Linked DNA regions of Homo sapiens: region 1 is linked to region 2. Evidence: promoter capture Hi-C in human tissues and cell types (Jung and others, 2019). All regions are on one chromosome and are shown on one strand. The core of a region is centred on a gene start or on the middle of the fragment in contact, and the rest is flanking DNA. Distances in the headings are between cores, read along the strand shown.

Evidence for each region. The method cuts DNA at HindIII sites, captures the fragments that hold promoters and counts their contacts. A contact is called where the count stands out against the background at its distance.
Region 1: a contact is called between a fragment that was not itself captured here and the fragment with the promoter of RNPEPL1 in region 2, in 1 of the 25 tissues and cell types used here (dorsolateral prefrontal cortex).

The regions. Positions count from the first base shown.
Region 1 is chr2:240,710,680-240,717,783 of GRCh38, forward strand. It overlaps KIF1A (kinesin family member 1A), which reads right to left. Exons shown (of 49, transcript NM_001244008.2): 49 at 3,088-6,727. The coding sequence ends at 6,685. Among named protein-coding and RNA genes, the nearest start is that of AQP12A, 22 kb to the left of the region's middle. RefSeq lists an enhancer at 1,235-2,042. The HindIII fragment of the contact is 6,199 bases long and covers 1-5,386 here.
Region 2 is chr2:240,563,133-240,570,759 of GRCh38, forward strand. It overlaps RNPEPL1 (arginyl aminopeptidase like 1), which reads left to right and starts at 5,352. Exons shown (of 11, transcript NM_018226.6): 1 at 5,352-5,982. The coding sequence starts at 5,455. It overlaps DUSP28 (dual specificity phosphatase 28), which reads left to right. Exons shown (of 2, transcript NM_001370465.2): 2 at 1-2,124. RefSeq lists enhancers at 1,489-1,638, 1,769-1,848, 5,799-6,437, 6,309-6,488, 6,438-7,076 and silencers at 3,319-3,558, 5,069-5,328, 5,359-5,418, 5,559-5,748, 5,989-6,038. The HindIII fragment of the contact is 6,553 bases long and covers 728-7,280 here.

The DNA.
Region 1 (7,104 bases), core at 1,037-3,536, 140 kb after region 2:
CAGAGTGAGACTCCATCTCAGAAAAAAAAAAAAAAAAAAAAAAAAAAAAATATATATATATATATATATATATATATATATAAAACACATGAAAATAATTTAGCAACACTAATAAATAAAATTGAAAAATGATAAGGTGCCACTTACCACCTGCCAAAGGGGGAGGACTAAAAAGACTCAGACATGCAGTGAGACGATGATGGGCTTTATGTTCAGAAGCCGTGTGTGTGTGTGCGCACATGTGTGCACACGCGTGCCACACACACACACACACACACACACGTAAGATGCACATATGAATTTATATAAACTCCCACACAGTAATTCCAGCTAGGACTTTGTCCCCAAAAGTAGGATAAGAGCATGGTTTCATGTGTAAGGACCCATGTCGCTCTGTTGTTTACTGTACTGGAAAGTACAGTTTGGAAGAATCAGGAAAGCACCAATTCACTCCACACACGAGAGGAGGAAGGTGTGGAGTGCAGAGCAGGCAGGAAGCTGGGGGGTGCTCTCAGGCCAGGTCCTGGAAGCCCACACTGCGGGGAAGAGGGGCAGCTCATGGGAATTCTTCTTGGGAAATACCATTTGCTGTGCAGTGGGATCCTCTGACACCCCACACACCTATAAAGTCAAGATCTCCTGGCTGGGGGCCTGGCGGGCTCCAGGTGGTGGTTGGTAGGGAGAGGAGAAGGCCACGGGGGTGAGGGGTTAAGTCCCTGCTTCCTGCGTCCTGGACTGTAGACAGGACATGCCTGCGCCCCTCTGGCCCTGGGTCCAGTTGGGTCTAACTGGCCAATGGGTGTCACCCCAGTAGGATGAGGAATCTGCTGGATCCTGTCTGGGTGTCCCCAAGGCCGGGGCTCAGCTCCCCAGAGACACAACGCGTCCAATGGACACGTGAGCCTCCAGACACCCACACTGTGGCTTGGTCTGCTCCAGGCTCCACGGAGCCAGCCTTAAGGTCTTGGGGAGAGGAGAGCACAGGCTGGATGGGCCAGTGAGGTTCAGTCCAGGGTTCTGGAACCATCTCAGGGTCTGGGCCTCAGTTTCAGGATCTGCCGCACAGGCAGGAGCTAGGGAGCCTCCCCAGGGCCTGGACTCAGCATTCAGACTCCAGCTCACAGGGGACACAGGAGGGGCCCTGGGCCAAGTCAGGCTTTTGGGGCAGCAGCAGGAGGTGTCAAGATGGGCAGGAGGCTGGAGCAGAAGGGAGCCAGGTGCATTACGGGCCACCTCTCCCTGGGGACTGGGTTGGGTTATCACTGGCTGTCTGCACAGGGGTGGACTCTGTCCTCAAGGCTGGGGCTTCCAGGCTTTTCTGCCCTCTACACATCCTGGAGGCTGTGAAAGCTTTAGTCGACACCCCTAAAGGACCGCCCCCAGTGCAGGAGTGACAGTGGCCATCTGCTGAGTTAAGACGTGAGTCTGTCTGTCCGTGTGAGTCCACTGTGCCACCAGCCCTCGCTGGACGGCAGCAGAGACTTGCAGGCATCAAAAGGGTCTGAATGGCTCCCAGGCCTCAGAGAACCACCAGCCAGGGCTGCACTGAGGCACCAACATGGACAGAAAGACCATCCCAGCCAGGAGAGAGTGCAGCTGGGGAGTGTGAACCAGGCCCCACAGGGCACAGGATGACCGTGCCCAGCTTAGCACTGCCCTGGACACAGAAGTGGTCCCAGGTCCCAGAGCCCGGTCACACCGCTGGTGGAAGGCACCAACCATGAAAGCCCAGCGCCACTCAGCCCACACTCCTGGTTCTACTCCCTCGTCTTCCAGAACCTTCGGACGATGGGTGTCATCCCTGGGGCCCCAAGAACAAGGTCAGGTGGAAGCAGAGGTAGCGACAGGTTTCTCCTTAACACTGGAAGGCACAGCCAATTGTTACTTAATGTTTTGTTAGTTTCATTCATTGTTTTAAAAAACAGAAACCTTCTACAGCACTTAGTCTGTGTCAGGCCCCGTCCTACGCCTTTTCCAAAGCTAACTCATTTATCCTCCTCAACCAGTGAGGAGGCCGCTATGATTCTGCCCAGTCACTGAATTCTGGTTTGATTTGCTTCTCACTCTTAATTTTTAAAGAATTACACGGGTAACACAAATTCATTGTAGAGAAACTAGAAAATCCGATGAATAAAAAGGTTTTTTCTTTATTTTTCATTTTAAAATAATGGTAGGCTCACAGGAAGTTATAAAAAAAAAAAAACAGCACAGAGAGGAACTGTGTGCGCCCTTCACCCAGCTGGCAAAAAGTTCTGTCTATAATCTCAGGACTGGAAGACTACGACCTCTCAGACAGGAGGAGTCCACACAGGTTGAACGGTATCTATGTCAGCCCTGACACAGCCCCTCCCACCTGTAGCCAGAGGGTGGCCCCACACAAGGCCCCGGAGCCCCCGTGCCAGCCAGTAGGGTCCACCTCCCAGGCCCACTGAGAGGCGTTGCCTTCCGAGCAGGTGCCACCCTCACTGAATGTCCTGGAGATGGCTGTCGCCTGTGACAAAGCCACTCACCTCTGGAGGGCCTGGGGGCTCCTAAGGACTGGGGGCCCTGCCCAGAGTCCCCCAAAGTGCAAGGCTGTCACCCCATCCTCCCATCGGCCATCAGTGTGACGCTGGTCCACAAACTCCTGCCATACCTTGGACAAGACTAAGGCCCTCGTGTGCAATGGTGCGGCCTCTGGAACTCCAGGAGGCTCTGAGGATCTGGGCCCAGGCGCAGACCCCATGGACTAGAGACTCTGAAGGGTCCAGGCCTGAGGCTGCCTGGGATGGGTGCAGTGGCCTGGTATGAGGGTGGTAGGTGCTGTGTCCCTGGGGAGGTGCCTGGGGCTGGTTCACAGGGGTGCAACCGGTCACGGGAGGCAGGTGGAGGTTGATCCTCCAAGACCAGCACCCTGTGTACACTCAGTCTTCGACACCTTCCCCACCACCTCCCCATGCCCACCTCGAGAGCCAGCCCCTCCCTGCCTCATCACTGGGAGAGGGGTACTGTCTCTGGACCACGCTGGATGCATGCACCTACAGCCATTTTCCGGGGCCCTGCAACACACGTAACACGCAAATAAAGCCACAGCAGAGCCCATGGGACTGTGTTGAGTAAGAGCCACATTTATTTCTTAATTGGACAGAGCCTCAAGTGCACGCACAGTACAGGAGCCTAGGGCTAACACTCGGGTGTAAGACATCGGGACAGGCGTCGTGACGTCGGGACGGCAGCTATGACATGGGGTCTGGGGTGTGCCCACAGCAATCACATATGTACAAGCCAGGGACGCGGCCTCTGAGCCACAGGGGAACCAGGGGACGGACTAACTACAGGAAGCACAGGCCCAGGGAGAAACGCAGGTCGCCACAGCTGCTGTCCGTCTGGGGGACCGCACGGCCCGGCACCGGGGGTAAGGGAGTGTGCCTTCCGTGGTCCCCACATGGGTGAGGCTGGCATAGGACCAGTGCAGCAGCACAGTAAACACCTGTGACATCAGCCCCACCAGGGCCCCAGGTGCTGGGGACTCCAGGGACCAGGGTTGACAGGGAGGGCCACCTCATCACAGCCGTCCTGGGTGGGGGAGTTTGTGCCTGTGCAGCCGGTGGATGAAACATTGGCATCTTCTCAGCGATGACTCCCAGTGGGAGGCCTTGGACTTGGCACCCCTAGGCACTGGCCGTGTCCCATCAGATCCCAAGTGCTGGTCGGCCTGGAGCCCGGCATCCCCATCTATCTGGAGCCGCAGCGGAAGGAGCTCCCCCTTTCTGGTGGAGGATGGCTGCCCCCAAACCAAAACAAGCCCCCAGACTCGGCAGTATAAAGCATTAAATGAAACCATCTGAGGGAGACGGCTTTCCAGATCTGTCTCACCTCCCCCACTTAGCAGGAAGCAGCAGCCACCCTGGGCCTGGCTGTCTCCCAAGCACCGCACCCCATGAGCACCTCCACACCAGCCCTCCACCTCACAGATGTGGAAACCGACTCCTGGGGAGCTCAAGGAAGGCAGCTAACGTGGTCCCTAGGTGGTTTCTGGCAGAGCGAACTTTTCAAGAAGCCAGGTGTCCTGACTCAGGCGGCCTCCTCTCACCATCAACTCTGAGTTTCTGGGTCCTGGCTTAGGCACTCCTCACTAGAGCAGGCCCGGAAGGAGGGAGTCGGCGGAGGCTGCAGTGTGGCTCTGGGTCCTAGCCAAGGCCAACACGGCACCTGGCTGAGAGGACACAGCCAGGCAGTCTCCATGGCAGTGGAGGCTTCTGAATTTAGGCAGCTCCCAGGCACCTCCACTCAGCCCACCCACGCCGCGAGTGCTCTGCAGGTTGGCTGGCCTCAGACACCTGCGACCTGGGGGGTGCGCCCAGACCCTTTGGAGGCCACAGCCTCAGGCTGGCTGACCTGAGTTGGCCGTGGCAGGGCCTGTGCCTCCTCTAGCCTGCCTGGGGCCCGTGGGGCTCCCCCTCATCTCAGACCAGCGTGTCCTGCCCTGCCTCTCCTTCCTGCCTCCAGGCAGCGCTGGATGCCGGAGCAGGTGCTTCTGCAAGAAGCTGTTCTGCATCCTCTCCTTGCTGCATCTTGGTCCACTGCCTCCAGAGGTCACCCATGGGGAGCACAGGCCACCTGGCTTCTGAATTTTATTTTGGGATGTGAATCCTCACCTGGGAGATTTCCAAAGAAAGCTGCTGTGTCCTGTGTCCTGCCTTCCCAGGCGTGGCTTCCCGAGCCCTGATTCTCCCTCACAGAACCCCCCCATCAGCCCCTGGGAGAGCCTCCCAGGCAGGGGATGAGGGTGGCGGTGGCCACACCGCACCTGAGCCCAGGTACGAAAAGGCGAGCCCACAGTCCCAGCTCCCAAACAGGCTGGCCCAGGCAGGCAGCCACAGAGACTGCAGCCAGCATGGGCCCTGGCCTGCCCTGCACACCACTCTCGGAGATGGAACTTCAGGGGCCCAAACAACCTTCCCAAAGGAAAACCTCATGCCAGAGCCTTCCCATGTGGTGTAGAAGGCCCGTGCTCCCCCACTCCTGAGCCGCTGTCTCTCCCCCAGGCATGGGATTGGGGTCTCTGAGGCTCATGTCAGCATCACGTGGGACAGCCTGGGAGGGTAGGGGCCTCAGAACCAGTGGGGTGCTGCGTTTCCCCCACTCCAGGAGGCAGGATCTGATGAAAGTGCTGGGCCCTAGGTCTGGAGCACCAGACCCGATGTAACTGCTCCCACGGGCCACGGCGGGAGAGGGGCTCTGTTGCTTGGCTACTGTCTTTCCTTGAGCTAAAAAGAGACCAAATCGACCTGTGGGTGTGGGTGGGGAGGGCCCTAAAACCTCCCTAGGCCTCTGGACATGACTCCTATGACCAGACTCTCAGCTTGGGGCTGACCCCCGTCCTGTCCTGGGTGGCCCTCGGACATTGGTGTCTGCAGAGGGGGTGAAATGGGACAAGAACAAAGGGACACCGCAGATGCAGCAGCGAAGAGCTCCTTGAAGACAATAACCACCAAGCCAGCCACCCTCCATTGCCGACCGACCAGGATACCCCCACCCCATGGGATTTTCTCAGTGGGACTCACAGAAACTCTCTGCCCTGGGAACAAAGAGAGGAAAGTCTTTGCAAGAAACCTGCTAATGGCAGCATTTCTTCCCAGAAGCTACCTTGACTCACTCCATTTCTCGCCGCAGCTGAAGAGGCTGCGCCACAGCCCTCGACACCTAGACCGTCGCCCTGAATTCCGATCTTCCCTGACTTCCTGGTCTCAACCCACCACCCTACCCTGATGGTCCGGAGACAGCACGCAGTCCCAGAGTCTGCACACTGGCAGGTGATCCCGACCCCGCTCCCTCCTGGTCCCCGCCCAGGACAGATCACAGCCTGGGTGCCGTCTGCCTCATCTCAGAGCCAGAGCCGAGTGTCACCCCTCACCCTTTCCTGGGGAAAGCTGCCGGAACTCTTCTTGGAGTCACTCCTCAGGTGGCCGCCCAGAAGAGATGTGCGTTCTCCCTCCCACCAGAGGAACTCACACCACCCTCCATGCCGCGCAGACTTCAGGCACCAAAGACACCCCCCCACTCTCCCACACATACACCCAGGACCCATGTGGCCATGGAGAAGCCTGGGGCCCAGGCGATACACCCGTGTGCTAGCCCCAAGGTGCCCCACTGGTCCAGACAGCTCCTCACTGCGGCCTTCCAAGGTGGCTGTCCCTGCCCTGCCTGTCCCTAGCAGGCTTGGGAGACACATGTGGGAACAAACAGGGTGGAGGTGGTTGGGGGTTCCATCTGAATATTACAGGGCTATGTGGAGGCATTAGAAATAAATACTTATAAATAGAACAAGTCTTATAGTTAATTTCCGAGTTGACTGTTTCAATGTCACTAACTAACGTATATTAATTATAAGTCTGTCTATGCTTAAAAAAATATTAGAACGGCAGCAAGAACCCCCGTAACCTGTGCCCTTGGCCCCCCCAGCCTCTCCCAACTTGTTCCACCAGAGCACATTCTGCAAGAAGAACTGACACGCACAGCCTCTGCTGGGAGCACAGCTGGTCGTGTGGCACAGGTCCCCGGGCCTGGCATGGGCGTCCCCTGGGGGGTCGACCCGGTCGTGGGCTGTCTGGCAGGAGAGGGGCTGGGCGGCAGGTGACAGGACAGACGAGGATGAGGGAGGGGATGGGCTGGGCCTGCCGGCTGTCACGGGAGGGCTCAGGTTCAGACCCGCATCTGGGCAGACCTCCTTCTGGAGAGCTTGGACCTGCAGAAGAGTTGGGAGAGGCGGCGTGGTCAGGCCAGGAACACCTGCAGGCCATATCCACCGTGCCCTGCACAGGCAGGCAGCCGTGAGGGGCAGCCACAGACCCCATGTCCCCGCTGGTTCCCTCACCACCTGGGGAAGGGACTGAATCTCTGCTTCTGGTGTGTAGGACTCAGCCCGCCCATCCCCTCCTGCACCCCGCTTTTCACATCCCTGCTGTGGGAGGGACCAGCTCCTTCCGCAGCCTGCCCAAGGGCACACGGTTTCCCCATGCCGAGGCCACCGGGTTAGGATGTAATTTTGAAAGTATGGCCTGGGATTTATCACTCCACAAGAAGCCACAACTCAGAGGGAGCATTAATAGCCCTAAGGGCATC
Region 2 (7,627 bases), core at 4,102-6,601:
GATTTGACAGAATTCTGCAGGAATTTGGTTTCAAAGCCAGTGTAAACAACTATGCCAGTGATCCACTGAGCATTTCTTTTTTTTTTTTCTTGAGACGGAGTCTCACTCTGGTGCCCAGGCTGGAGTGGGCGCCATCTTGGCTCACTGCAAGCTCCGCCTCCCGGCTTCATGCCATTCTCGTCCTTCAGCCTCCTGAGTGGCTGGGATTACAGGCGCCCGCCACCACGCCTAGCTAATTTCTTTGTATTTTTGGTAGAGACGGGGTTTCACTGTGTTAGCCAGGATGGTCTCAATCTCCTGACCTCATGATCCTCCCGCCTCGGCCTCCCAAAGCGCTGGGATTACAGGCGTGAGCCACCTCGCCCGGCCAATCCACTGAGCATTTCTAAGCTGTGTATCTCTTAACAAGACCCAGTCAGGCCCTATTGGAACAGGGCTTTTACCACCTAGGCGGAAGCTCAGCCATTGAAATGACGATCAGGTGCTTCACGGTCTATTTTTCCAGATAGGCCTAACAGCTGGTTTTCTGTTTGCATTTCAGCTGTTTCTGGCAAAGCCTGCCGTGTCTTACATTTGTCTCTCTATCCGGATTAGATGTTGCTATATGAACACATCGGGACTGTGTCTGCAGGAAGGAGCTCCCCATTCGAGGCCTTCACAGTGTCACCCACATTCACCTCTTTCCACTTAAACGTGTCCCATGAATCTTGTCATAACAGTTTTGTGTTCCTTAACTATTTTGTCTGCCATGTCATTTATGATGTATATAACCTCTTTAATGCCTGAAATCATAAGAATAATCATCAAAGGCAAGAGGGTTGTATATTTTCCCGTTGGAGACACATCTGGAATTTGCTGCAATAAAATAATAATAAGAAAGCATTGGCAGCTTTGGTAAACTGCAGATTCAAAAATCGAGGGAGAAATGAGCACACGCTGTACTTGGCTGTACATATAATTGCTGACTGTGGGTTGCAGAAATTTCTCTCAAGCATCATCACCACTTTTGCTCAGTTATCAGTAGTAATAACAGCAATCAAAACTGAAACTGCTCCAGATGCCTGTCTAGGAAGTATGGTTTTCCATCCTTCCTACTGCTTTCTTCACAAGAGAATCCTCCACCTCAGTGGCCCTGAAGTGGCCTGAAGGGCCCGCTCTGCGGTCCTGCCACCAGTGCCCTCTGAGGTCCATGGTCCCACGGCACCACGGCCGCCCAGTGCACTCGCCTCCACACTGAGTTTTCATTTTTCCCAGTTAAGCCCCATCTTCCGGAAATGCAGCTCCAGAGGGTCTCTGTCCCCTCTTGCTGGTGGGGCAAGGGTCTGCGCATCAGACCACATGGACCCCTGCACCACCATCTGCTCCGTCCTCTCCCTCTGGTCAGCTCAGCTTATTAAACAAGCCTTGGTCAGGAAAATCTAAACCACTTAAGGAACTGGGCAGAAAGAAACTGAATGCAGGGAGAAGAAGGCTGGGGAGCCAAGGACAGGAGAGGAGACATAGGGGAGTCACAGGGACCTGCCACCCAGATCCCCACTGCCTGATGTCCTGGCTGTGGAGGGCACCTGGAGCTGCCAGCAGAGCCTCCTGCCCACCAGCTGCTGAAGCCACAGTACATCTCCTTCCTCCCACCTCCCAGACCTCTCACTGGTCTCATCTGGGCACCGAACATGGGAAGCCCCTCCTGTGACAGGCAGGGGAGAAGGAGGCTGTGCTGACAGACGGCCTGGTGAGGGAACCCGGGAGGCCTCCAGCATCTGCACCCCTCTCCTACTTTGATCTCTGTTTCACCAACATTGCACCCCAACTTAAGGTCACATAGCTACTGTCAAGCCAACAAGGTGCTGCCTCTCCCGCCGTGTGAGGGTGGAACCCCATAAGCCACCACTGGAGGCATCCAAGCATGTTGATTCCTTCTCTAGTTCAGACACCACCTCTCCTGGACATCCTGTGGCCTAAAGACTATCCTAGAATCAACACTCCTTAAATAGGAGTGGGGAAAGAAAAGGAAAATGTGTGTAATACATGTGAATCACAGATAACGTAGTCATTGGTTAATATATACAACTACGCGTATTTACATTCTGTATGCGTCAATGAGTAAAATACTGTGGTTGGTGCTTATCTGCCTTTTCCAATACTCGTTCCATGTTCTACCCTCAGCCAGTGCCTAAGCTGCTTATGGCCTTCACCTGGTGGCATGACTCGATCCTTCATTTTTAAGGCCCCAGGCCCTGCATGGCTGCCCACACAGGTGCTGTGGCCTCCGTTACCTGTACTGCACCACCAGAGAGAAGTAGGAGGCACCACTCTTCCTGGCCCCCAAGCCTCACAAAGCCTCATGCCCACCTGCCAGAGCCAGCCCTGTGTTGTCTCATGCTTCCGTGGCTGGGCCGTGTCTGAGCCACCCTCCCAGTGAGACCCGATTGTGTTCCTAAGCAAAAGCATCCCACCTGGGGACCGAACATCTCTGATGCGGCAGAGCCCAAAGCTGGGGGGATGGGAAGCACGGGTTTTGTCAGCCAAGCGTGGGGGTGGTAGTGAGAAGGGCCTTCTCCCTCCCCACGCCTTGTGTACCTGGGCCTCAAGCATAGGCCACACCTTGTTGGTCGCTGCCCCTCTATGCCGTGTCACCAGCCGGCACCACCCATCGCTGTGGACCGCGGCCCCCATCACAAGCTGGTGCCCAGGGCAGTCCCCATCTCTGTGGAGGGCTTGCCTGCCGCTGGCCTCTCTAGATAAGCTCCTCATGACTCATGCAACCTTTTCATCAACCCGGAAGGAAGCAGCCGCCGGTCGCCACTAGTGGGTGAGGAACAGTGGCTTGGAGAGGAGGGAGGACCTGGGTCTGCGGTTTCCCCCGCGGCTCAGCCCTGCTCACAACACCCTGATGAAAACCTCGGCTGCCCTTGCCTCAGGGCAGGGCACACCCTTTACCTGCTGACCTGGCCCTGGTGACAAGGGGACAAGGGCAGCAGGGCCCCGGCCAGGTTGAAGGACACCTGTGGGTCACATCAGACCTTTTTAGCCCACCAGCTCCATCTGAGAACTGGTAGCTCCCTGGTCCTCTGTCGGGGTTGGGCGCGGCCCTGTCTGAACACTGCTTCTTCCTGGAAGCTTTGCTGCCCTCCCCAGCCTGCTAAAACGCTCCATGCCCACACCCACCTCCTAGTGGGTGAAGCCAGGAACCCCTCCCTCGGGTGCATCAGGGGAAGGCTGGGGTGCAGATGCCGCGCAGCCACTTCACTGCGCTGATCACCAAAAAGCTGGAGTATGAAAACTCCTGTGGGAGAAAGCCAGGGCTGACAGTCGCGACGTCCAGGCTCCTCTGCCAGGGTTAGAGAAGTCAGAGGTGTCTGCCCAGGCCTGCATGCGGCGTAGCCTCCCGCCGCCAGGGGGCGTCAGGCCGGCGGGGGCGGGGCCTCCTCGGGCGGGGCGGGGCGGGGCGGGGCCGGCGCGAGAGGCTCCCGCGGCTCAGTTGCAGACCCCGCCCCCTCGGCTCAGCCGCGCCTCCCGCTCCATGGGGTGCAGTAGGGCAGCTCCTCACATACGTGCGCGGTGGGAGGCGCTCCCTTGGGCCCCCGGGGAGGAGGTGCCACAGCAACTCTGGACTCCTGTGTGCAGAACTGGCCGCGGAGAGGTGCCCAGGGCGAGACCCCAACCTCTGCTCCCTGAGCCCAATGCGGGGCTCTGGGTGGCAAGACCCCAAGCTCCCTGTGGTGACTTGCCCCCCGGACGGCCAGGCCCAGCTAGTGTGGCACCGCGTGTGCAGAACTGAGGTTCTTCCAGCCAGGAACATGGCCCGGTGGGCTCTGGAGAGCCCCGTAGAACTGGGGGTGCCATCGAAAACAGTCTGCCCTTGGCACTGCAGGGCCCCACCGGGCAGGGCGCTGGGGGCAGTGAGGAGGGTCCCATCTCAGCTGTCTTCCCTGTCAGCCTTGGATGCGAGGCTGATCCACACCTCTGAGTGACTGTGTAAGCCTAGGGGTTCCTGGTGAGTTTGGGATGGGTGCCCCAAGATCGTGGCCGTGTCCCTAAAGAGGGCACGTGGGGACCTGAGGTCCTACGGGAAAACTGAAATGATGCCTCAGTGCTCTGTCCCGCAAACGTGAACGCACACTCTCCCTCTCAGCCTTCCTTCCCGCCCCACGGAAGGAGGGTAGACACAGAGGGTTACACAACGAGGAGACTGAGTCCAGACACAGGAAACACTACTCAGGGCTGACGCTGAGTCGAGTGCGGTACCCGAGTCCAGCCCTGCACGGCCACACCTCAATGGAGCAGAAGAGAGAGGTGTCCTGGGTTCCTGGATAGTTCCCCAGCCCCAGAAGCCCCTTGTCCCTAGGAATTTGAATTCTTACTTGATGACAACAGCGACATCATGGTGGCCCCTGTTATTCCACAGCCTCAAAATTTAACCGCTGTGAGCTCACTAGCAGCTTCTGCCAGGCGAGCACCCCTTCCCTCGGGGCTCAGGCTCCTGGACAGGCTCAGCCTTGGGCAGCCTTCGCCAGGTCCACAGAGAATGGCGTTGGGAAGGGTGGACCTGGCGGATGGGGTGGGGACAGGCGGGCCAGACCCTCCTTCGTACCCCAGCACAGGGCTCCCAAATGAGAGGTCCCCAGCACTGCCCAGAGGAACTTCTGCGATTGTGGAAATGATTCCTGCCTGCTTTGTCCATTAGCCACTCCTCCCAGGAAGACACACACACTCACTCACTCCACCTGCCACGAAGGAACTGAACTTCTAACTGTATTTAATTCGCATCTAAATGGCCACACGTGGTTGGTGGCTGCTGTAGTTGACAGCGCTGCGTGAAGGCTCCGGCGCTTCTCGCACCGCAGGGCCCACAGCACAGACCACACCTGTAGACTTGGAGGAGTGGCAGGGGTGCCAGGAGAATCCTGCCCTGCCCGTAGCCCCGGATGAAAGGATGACATTGAGTTCGCGACGCTGCGCTCCTCGGGAACACGAACCACACCTGGAAGCAGCCTGCCCCTGTGGCCCCAAGGTTCCCGGGTCCCTTCAGCGGCTGCCCCAGGGGCCTGGCCGGCAGTGTCTGGGAGGGAGCAGCGATCCCGCCTCCTGGGATCTCCCGGGCGCCGCCCGGGGAGGAAGCGAGGGGCTGGGGGTGCTGCTCACCCGCTCCGCGCGCCTCGGCTCCCAACACAGCGCCCCGGCCCCGCGCCGCGCTCGATTCCCCGGCTCCCCGCGCCCCTGGCTCCTGGCCCTCCCCGCCCGGCGCCCCGGCCCCGCGCCCCGGCCCCGCGCACAGCGCCCCCGGCGGCGGCCGAGCGGAGCCCGAGCGGGGCGGCGCACGGCGCGGGGCCGGGCCGGGCGGCTCCCGGCGCGACTTCCTGTTGTGCCCGCGCCCCGCCGCCGCCGCCGCCCGGCGCCCCTCGCCCGCGGCCCGGCGCGGCCGCCGCCCATGGATTTCACCTAGTGCCGGCGGCCATGGCCGCGCAGTGCTGCTGCCGCCAGGCGCCCGGCGCCGAGGCCGCGCCCGTCCGCCCGCCGCCCGAGCCGCCGCCCGCCCTGGACGTGGCCTCGGCCTCCAGCGCGCAGCTCTTCCGCCTCCGCCACCTGCAGCTGGGCCTGGAGCTGCGGCCCGAGGCGCGCGAGTTGGCCGGCTGCCTGGTGCTCGAGCTGTGCGCGCTGCGGCCCGCGCCCCGCGCGCTCGTGCTCGACGCGCACCCGGCTCTGCGCCTGCACTCAGCCGCCTTCCGTCGCGCCCCCGCCGCCGCCGCCGAGACGCCCTGCGCCTTCGCCTTCTCCGCCCCCGGGCCGGGGCCCGCGCCGCCGCCCCCGCTGCCCGCCTTCCCCGAGGCGCCCGGCTCCGAGCCCGCCTGCTGTCCGCTGGCCTTCAGGGTGGACCCGTTCACCGACTACGGCTCCTCGCTCACCGTCACGCTGCCGCCCGAGCTGCAGGCGCACCAGCCCTTCCAGGTCATCCTGCGGTACACCTCGACCGACGCCCCCGCCGTGAGTCCGGGGCGGGCGCCGGGGCTGCGGGCCGGTCCGCAGGGCGCTGCTAGCGGCCTCTCGCCGCACGGCCAGGCTGAGGGACGCGAATCTGCGCCCTACAGGTGCCCCCCTCCCCCCACCCCGGTGATTCCCAGCTGTTGCCTGTGAGCCCTTAGGACCCTCGGATAGAAGCCGGAGTCCTGCGGGGACACGGGACAGCATGTCACTCCGGGAAGCCTCCCGTTCAGGTGTCTGGTCCCTGCCTGGGGACATGAGCAGCTTCTGTCACCCACCGAGGTGTACATCTGCAGGATCCTGGCACCAAGGGTTGGGCTGGAGTGTCAGCTGCGGAAGGGCCTCCATGTGACCAGTGCGTGCAGATGAGTCCAAGCCAGAGGCAGAGGAAAGGGCCATGGAGATTGTGATGCTCGGTTTGGGGCTTCCTTGGCCAGCACTGGTGGAGTGTTGAGACCAGTGGGCCCCGCGACCCCAACATAGACACACATAGGCTCTGCAGGGCTTGCACACTGGGTACCCACCACTCCAGAGACTCTGCAAGAAAGGCCAGGTGGCTGAGGCTGGCGCTGTGGCTGCAGCACCCCCTCCACCTCCACCAGTGGGGATGTGTACAGGATGGAGCAGGGCCTTTCCTGCCTACAGCATGGGGGTTCATACTGCATCCCTAGGTGGTATGGACGGCACACATGTGACACCCGACATATGCAAGACACACACAGCTGTGGAGGCGCTGGGAAGTCCAGCTGTCACTGGTCACGGCACATAAATGGACAGGGTGGTGGAGAGGTGGTCGAGAGGCTTCAGGCCACAAAGAGCCAAGGTGACATCTGGGCAGGAAGAACCCAGACCAGTGCACCCCTATGGGCTTCCTGTACATTTCCCAGGAGCCCTAAGCAGGACCTGCCACCTCACCTTTTTCCCAGAACCCCTGTGGGTGTGCAGGCCGCTGGCTAGCCGGCCCCGCCCCTGCTGTGGTATTCCAGGGCTCTGACCGGTGGCAAGTATGCCTCCCAGTATGACAGGTGAGAACTGAGGGATGGGCTTCTCCTTGGCCTTGATCCGTGTTTGGAGCCCACGTGTCTGGTCCGCCCAACACTGGCCTGCAGAGTGGCCGGACCAGGGCCCTCAGCAGGCTGCTGTGAACGGGGCCCAGTGAGCAAGGGTGGCCATTGTCTCTTGGCTTCCTATGGCCTACTGGGTGGCCCTTGGGTACTCTGGGCAGGGAGAGTGGCATAGTCCCCCAAGTCTGCGTGGTGTCAGGGTTGGCAGGCTGTGGACAGGGGGCCTAGCGTCACCTGGCCTGTGAGCCGCCCTACTTGCAGAAGGCAGAGTATTCGACTCTAACCTCAGGCATGCACCTTTGTATGTGAGCGCCATGGGGCTGGGGCCACACGTAGAGTCCCCTTCTCTTCCTGCATGTTCCAGGGACTCAGGCCCAAATCCCTAAGCCTGTCCCTGTGCCAGGGAGGATGCAGCGGAAGCTCCCTGGGAGGCCCTGCCAGTGGGCCCCAGGCCCCCAGAGGCTTTTTGGAGGTGCTGCAGATGCTTGGGCCCATTCCCGCACCCCCACCCCACCCCAGCAAGAACAGCGTTCTTCCTGCCCTGCAGCGTCTGGAGCCCTTCAGCCTTGTTCCTTTTCCACCAG